Linked DNA regions of Homo sapiens: region 2 is linked to region 1. Evidence: promoter capture Hi-C in 16 types of primary human blood cells and fetal thymus (Javierre and others, 2016). All regions are on one chromosome and are shown on one strand. Each heading gives the region's core, a stretch centred on a gene start or on the middle of the fragment in contact. The rest is flanking DNA. Distances are from core to core; before and after follow the strand shown.

Evidence for each region. The method cuts DNA at HindIII sites, captures the fragments that hold promoters and counts their contacts. A CHiCAGO score of 5 or more calls a contact.
Region 2: a fragment that was not itself captured here is called in contact with the fragment with the promoter of RNF157-AS1 in region 1 in 1 of 17 cell types (M1 macrophages); the score reaches 5.4 in M1 macrophages.

What each region holds. Positions count from the first base shown.
Region 1 is chr17:76,139,178-76,142,137 of GRCh38, forward strand. RNF157-AS1 (RNF157 antisense RNA 1) reads left to right here and starts at 1,379. Exons shown (of 8, transcript NR_040017.1): 1 at 1,379-1,503. It overlaps FOXJ1 (forkhead box J1), which reads right to left and starts at 2,068. Exons shown (of 3, transcript NM_001454.4): 1 at 1,937-2,068; 2 at 721-1,387. The coding sequence starts at 1,218. RefSeq lists an enhancer at 1-494 and silencers at 906-1,095, 1,156-1,225, 1,904-2,063. The HindIII fragment of the contact is 14,991 bases long and covers 1-2,960 here.
Region 2 is chr17:76,440,286-76,443,245 of GRCh38, forward strand. The region is part of intron 1 of UBE2O (ubiquitin conjugating enzyme E2 O); the gene reads right to left. Among named protein-coding and RNA genes, the nearest start is that of UBE2O, 11 kb to the right of the region's middle. RefSeq lists enhancers at 766-1,283, 2,708-2,827. The HindIII fragment of the contact is 1,459 bases long and covers 792-2,250 here.

The sequences.
Region 1 (2,960 bases), core at 129-2,628:
GACGTGGAACACGAAGTGAGTGTGGTAGGCAGAGCCCCAGTGGAAGGCACCTGGCTCAGGTAATTGTCCCCCCAGGGAGGTTGGCTGACAGCGGGGGTTGGAGGCAGGAAACTGAGCAGAGGTTGAGGTGGGGGGCTGGGACAGCAGCTTTAGGAAGGCCCCTTACCCCCTCCACCCTCCATTGGGACACACCTGGCCCTCACATGCTAAGGCACCCCTTCCATTCCACCCTCCCCAAGCCAACTGCAAAAGGGCAGGACGTAGAGCCTGGCAGGGAGGCCACGTTCCAGTTTCCGTTTCTGACTCCCGGCCCCGACAAACCATCCCGGGGCAGGGCAGTGTCTAGGAATTCTAGGACTTGGGACAAGAATGCGCCTTCAGTTCATCGCTCTCCCCAAGGAGATTCTGTCCACGCAGAGTCTAGCCCTGGTCTTTGGCCTGGGCCTGCTGGATGAATGGCAGGTTATTTCCCCTTGAATCTCAGCCTCTGCACCCCTAAAGCCCTCCACCTCTGGACATTCTCCCTTCTCTCTCTCTCTCTCTCTGGAAGTCAAAGGAGGGGCAGTTGCAAGAACTGGGCTCCTTTGCAGGGCTCCCTTCTGGGGCGCTGGCCGCACCGCAGAGCCTACTTGGCCTGCAGATTTGGGATATGAATCCAGTGCAGCGTGGGGAGCGAGGAGGGAATGGGGAGGGAGCGGCCGCCGCCCGTGCCTCCTCTACCTGCCAGGTGGGATCTGCGTGGCGGAAGTAGCAGAAGTTGTCCGTGATCCACTTGTAGATGGCCGACAGGGTGATCTTGGTGGCCTTGCTGGCCTGCATGGCCATGCAGATGAGCGTGGCATACGAGTAGGGAGGCTTCACGTGCGGATTGGTGGCGTAGTCCACGTCGTCGGGGGGTGGGGCCTGCAGCCCCGGGGGCGCGCTCCGCGACGTGCACGACGACGTGGGCTTGCCCGGCGTGTGTGGCTGCCCCAGGCAGGCGGGGTCGGCCGCCAGGGGGGACCCGGGCGCCGCTGAACCTGGCACCTGGTGGTAGCCGTGGGGGTCGGTGCCCCCCGGGGGCAGGGCGGGGGCCTTGGCGTTGAGAATGGAGAATTCCTGCAGCCACTGCAGGCTGGTCAGGCTGTCATCCAGGGCGTCGGGCTCCTCCAGGCCGCCCTCCGGCCCGGCCTCCTCCGCCGGCCCGGCTCCCGAGAGGCGCAGCCAGCTCTCCGCCATGTCTGCGGGGACTCTCCGAGGGGGCGGTCAGCATCCACGGGCTGAGCCGGGGGTGGCCCGCCGCGCTCTCTGGCCCGCTGAGTCCCGCAGCTCCCGTTACACGGCCTCCCGGACGCGCGCTTCCATCTCGCGACCCCGGGGGCGCCTCCTCCGAATAAGTATGTGGTGCCTGCGAGGACCACGGTGGGAGCTGAGCACTACCCCACCCCCGAGGGGACAGTGTGTGTACGGGGACGCCCTCTCTAACATCATCCCCGCAGCTGGGGAGGATCTTTTAGTGCCGAGGTATGGGAAACAGAAGCAAGGCCCTGGGGTCCCACCCCCATCAGATCTGCCTCCCTCTTCCTTTCCTCTTCGAGGTTTTATTAGCCAAATGAAGAGGGTAGGGGCATCCGAGGCTATCCTTTTCTCCCGAAGAGCAGGAAATCAGGACCCCCTTCCTCCTCGCAACAAATGGAAGTGGGGCGAGAAGTTTGGGAGGGCGGTACGACGGGGCGGGGGCGGTGGAGGTCCTCTGATCCTTGAAAAGGAATATTATGATAGGGGATCATTGGGAAGGAAGGGGACGGAACAGTAACGGGGGGCAGGAGGCGAGTTTCCCCCAGACTTCTCCGATGTCAGTCCCTGGGCCCACCACTTCCGTTAAGGACGAATGAGAGAGCGGGTTGGTACCGTTGCCCACCCTTCCCCCTGGCCTGCAGCCCTCCCCATCCCTTACCTGGCTCAGAGCGCAGCCCGGGCCAGAGGAAGGTTCTGGAAGAAGTTGCTCCCACCCCCTGCGGCTCTCTGCCCCCAGCTCGGGGGCCCTGCCAGCGCCTCTTGCCGCCCCCCCGCCCGACGGCGCTTCTCTGAGCTACCGCGGCCCCGGGACCGGCATTAAGTAGCCGCTCCAAAGGCTTCTCCTGCTGCCATGGCGACGCTCCGCCCCCATAAACAGCTTCCGCCTCTGCCATTGGCCAGCACGTCTCCAAGGAGACCGCGGGCACTTGCCACTCTCCCTGGCGGCAACTCTCTTCGAACTCCCTCCTTCTGCCGCCCTCTCCCGCGCCACCCAACCCCCTACCCGCCGCTAAGTCCCGGCTCGGCTCATTCCCGCCCGAGGGCCCCGCGCTGGGGTCGGAGAAGCGCGCGGCCTGCGGCACCGGGAACCGCTATGGATCCGTTCGTTCTGGGGAACCAAGACTCTCGCCCCCACCCCCTTCCTGTCCCGTACGCTTTGAGGCGTCGACTGCTCCTGGGACGGAGCCTGGGGTTGGGGGGCTAAGGCTGGGAGCGGGCTCAGGCTCGGGAACCGTATCCTTGAGGTTTTCTTTCCTCTCCGCTACGAGTGGCACTTTCTCATGTTTCTGCAGCCTTTCCCTCTCCCCCGACTCTTAGGGTCTTTCTCTGGTGTCCCAGGCAGGTCTGACTTTCCGATGCCACCTGCCGCTTACATCCACAGAGGCGGCAGACACACCAAGGGGGTAGGGTAATCCAGTGTGTCCCAGTAAGCAGCTCCTTCCCCACCCGTATCCTCGAGGTTCCAGGAAGCTGACATTCCAGAGGCTTCTGCAGAAGCGCACTCACTCCTCTGGAGACAGCTGATGAAGCAGAGCCCGTGGGTAAAACTCTGAAGTCATGGACTTGTCAAATTCTCCTAGCGGGGTCATTTGCCCAATTAATTTCACCAACCTTTAAGTCACAGGGATTAAGAGTAGAGGGACTCTGGGGACTGTGTCCCTTCCTCCTCCCTTCCCCTGGCC
Region 2 (2,960 bases), core at 271-2,770, 300 kb after region 1:
ATTGGGTTAAGTAAAATATATTAAAATTAATTTCATCTCTTTGTTTTTTTTACTTTGAGACAGGGTCTTGCTCTGTTGCCTAGGCTTAAGGGCAATGGGTCGCACGATCACGGCCCATTGCCACCTCGACCGCCAGGACTCAAGCGATCCTCTCACCTCAGCCTACTGAGTAGTTGGGACTACAGGCGTAAGCTGCCACGCTAAGATGATTTCTGTACTTTTTGAAGAGATGGGGTTTCATCATGTTGCCCAGGCTGGTCTCGAACTCCTGGCCTCAAGTGATCCGCCTGGCTTGGCCTCCCAAAGTGTTGGGATTATAGCCATGAGCCACCATGCCTGGCCTCTATTTACTTTTTTCAGCTGTGGCTCACATTGTATCTCTATTTTTCAGGATCCTTCCAGAGCAGAGGTGGGAAAACTACAGCCTGCAGGTCATGTCCAGCCTACTGCCTGTTTCTTAAAATTTTATTGGAACATGACCATGCCCATTCATTTGCTTACTGCCTCTGAATGCTTTTGTGCTATAATGGCAAAGCTGAGTTGTTGTGAAGGAGACAGTATAGCCTGCAACACTAGGACATTTATCATCTGGCCCTTTACAGAAAGTTTGGCTGGCCCCTTATCTAGAGGGCAGGGCCTGTGTGGGGGTATCTCTCTCCCCACAGCACCCAGCACAGTGCAGGGGGCACCCGTGTAGTCAGTGAAGAGAACCTGCATTCGGGCAGCACAAACTGGCCTAAGTTTGAATTTGGGTTGGCCTCCCACTTGCTATGTGGCCTTGGTGAGTTATAAGCTTTCTCTGGGTTTCAGTCTTTCCTTTTCTAAAATGGGGCACTGGCCACTTTAAGGGAAGTGAGATGACACAGGTAAAGTGTGAGTTAACATGCCTGGCTCACAGCAGGAATCCATTGACACTGGCTGGATAAAAGACAGCAATTTCATTAAAATGCTGAATAATCATTCTCCTCTTGGATTGGGTGTGTTATACTCAAAACAACTACCATATTTACATCCTAAAATGAAATGAAATCAAATGAAACTTCTTAGCAACAGCAGTGCATTAATAATAACCACCAGCAAGCAATGGGGAGGAAGAAAGAGGCAAGCCTTTCTAACACTAAAGCACTGGCGGATGATGAGTCCGCCTCATCCCTTTCCTGCCCCTCCTGCAGCCCACCTTTGGACAATTCCCGGTTCATTAACACTGGCACTAGAAGAATAAGCAGAGGGGAGAGAAAAAGCCTCGAACCAAAGACGTACTAAAACTGAACCCATTGACATCAACGAGGTTTGGAAGGGCCCATATAAGTGCAATTCAAAAGACAGTCCCAGCCAGCAGCATCAATGTCACTGGGAGTTTGTTAGACACGCAGATTCTTCAGCCCAATGGAATTAGGACAATTTGCATTAGGAGACCCTAGGTGATGGCATGTGGCATTCACCTTGGAAAAGTGCTGGATTAGAATCCATTTATTCATGCTCTCTTCACTTCCCCCTCCCCCTCCACTGATAAACAGGGGTGGTTATATCTACTTTCAATAGATGGTTCCTGACTCCTTCAAAGTAATAGGCCTGGCATAGCCACTGCAACTCCAGGCCCCGCCCCCAAGGGTCTTGGTGCAGGCAGAGTGCATAGCCTAAGCTGCGTTCCTGATTCATTTGCAGTCGGGTGGGGCATTCTTTTTCCAATAGAGAGCCTCGTTCGTACTTAGCCATCCTCCTAAGGTGAGGACTGGGTGCTGATAACCATTCAGGAAACCCACGTGTGTGGAATCTGCCATTTGTCAAGTGCTTTAGGCGGGGTTCTTACAGGGGAAATGCAGCCAGAAGCAGCTTCATTTCGACCACAGGTGACACCAGCTCTAGCTAGCTCTAGCCTAGTCCACAATGCACGTAGTCTGCCTGGGGAGCCCGCGACGGAAGTTGCCAAAGTAGTAACTACAATATGGTGTATTCTGATTAATCTGCTCTTCCTAGTATTAGGATGCCCATACGTCCCAGTCCTGGAGTAATTATTCATAGTACTCTCAAAAGAACCCAACTTGGGCAATAAATTACTGTACATGGTCAACACACCTAGTACGGGGGGTGGGAGACAGAGTGGTCTAGTAAGGGGCCCATACAGCTCCAGCACAGACCACAGGGCATCTGGAAGAAGACTAAGAATACTATTTGTAGTAAGTGGGAGGGAGCAAACTGGTCATTCATGAAGATGTTTCCCAAGAGTCTGCATGTGCGTGATAGCACACAAGCTTTAGGATTTGCTGTCTCTGTTTCTCAAGGAGCTTCCCATCCAGGAGAGAATGTGGGTGTGCCATGGGGCATGAGAGGAAGGGAACGGCACAATTGAGTTGGGGAAAAGCAGTCAGATTGGCTGGAATCAACTGAAGAGGCAGGAGATAGAGCAGGATGTGTAGGTGAGGGGCCCTGAATGACAACCAAGGCATGATCAGAGGCTGGGTCCTGACACAATCCAGGCGATCACTTGGGAGGTCAGCCCTTTGGAGGTCAGTTGGCGGCAGCGCTGTTCACTGGTTGAAGGAGGACTAGAGGCAGGGAGACCAGGGAGAAGGCTACACAGTGCAGGCATGAGGCAAGCAGAGAGCAAACCAGGGTTGTGAAAGGGAAATGCAGGCACAGGATGCAAGAGGCCTCTCAAAGAACTGATGACAAGTTAGAATGAGGGCCAAAGAAGGTAAATTAAAAATGACCCCAAATGCTCTAATTTTGAGAAGATTCAAGCTTAGGTATTTAGGGGTGAAGTGCTATCATGTCTGCCACTAACTTAGCAGGAGTTAGTACCAGACATAATTCAGGAGGAAATATATTTACATAAGCATACAGATAAGGCAAATATGGCAGGATGTTAACAACTGCTGACTCATAATGGTTGGGGGTTAGCAATTACTGGCTTTCAACATTTTGGTATGGTCAATATTTTTTCCTATTAAAAAGTTGGG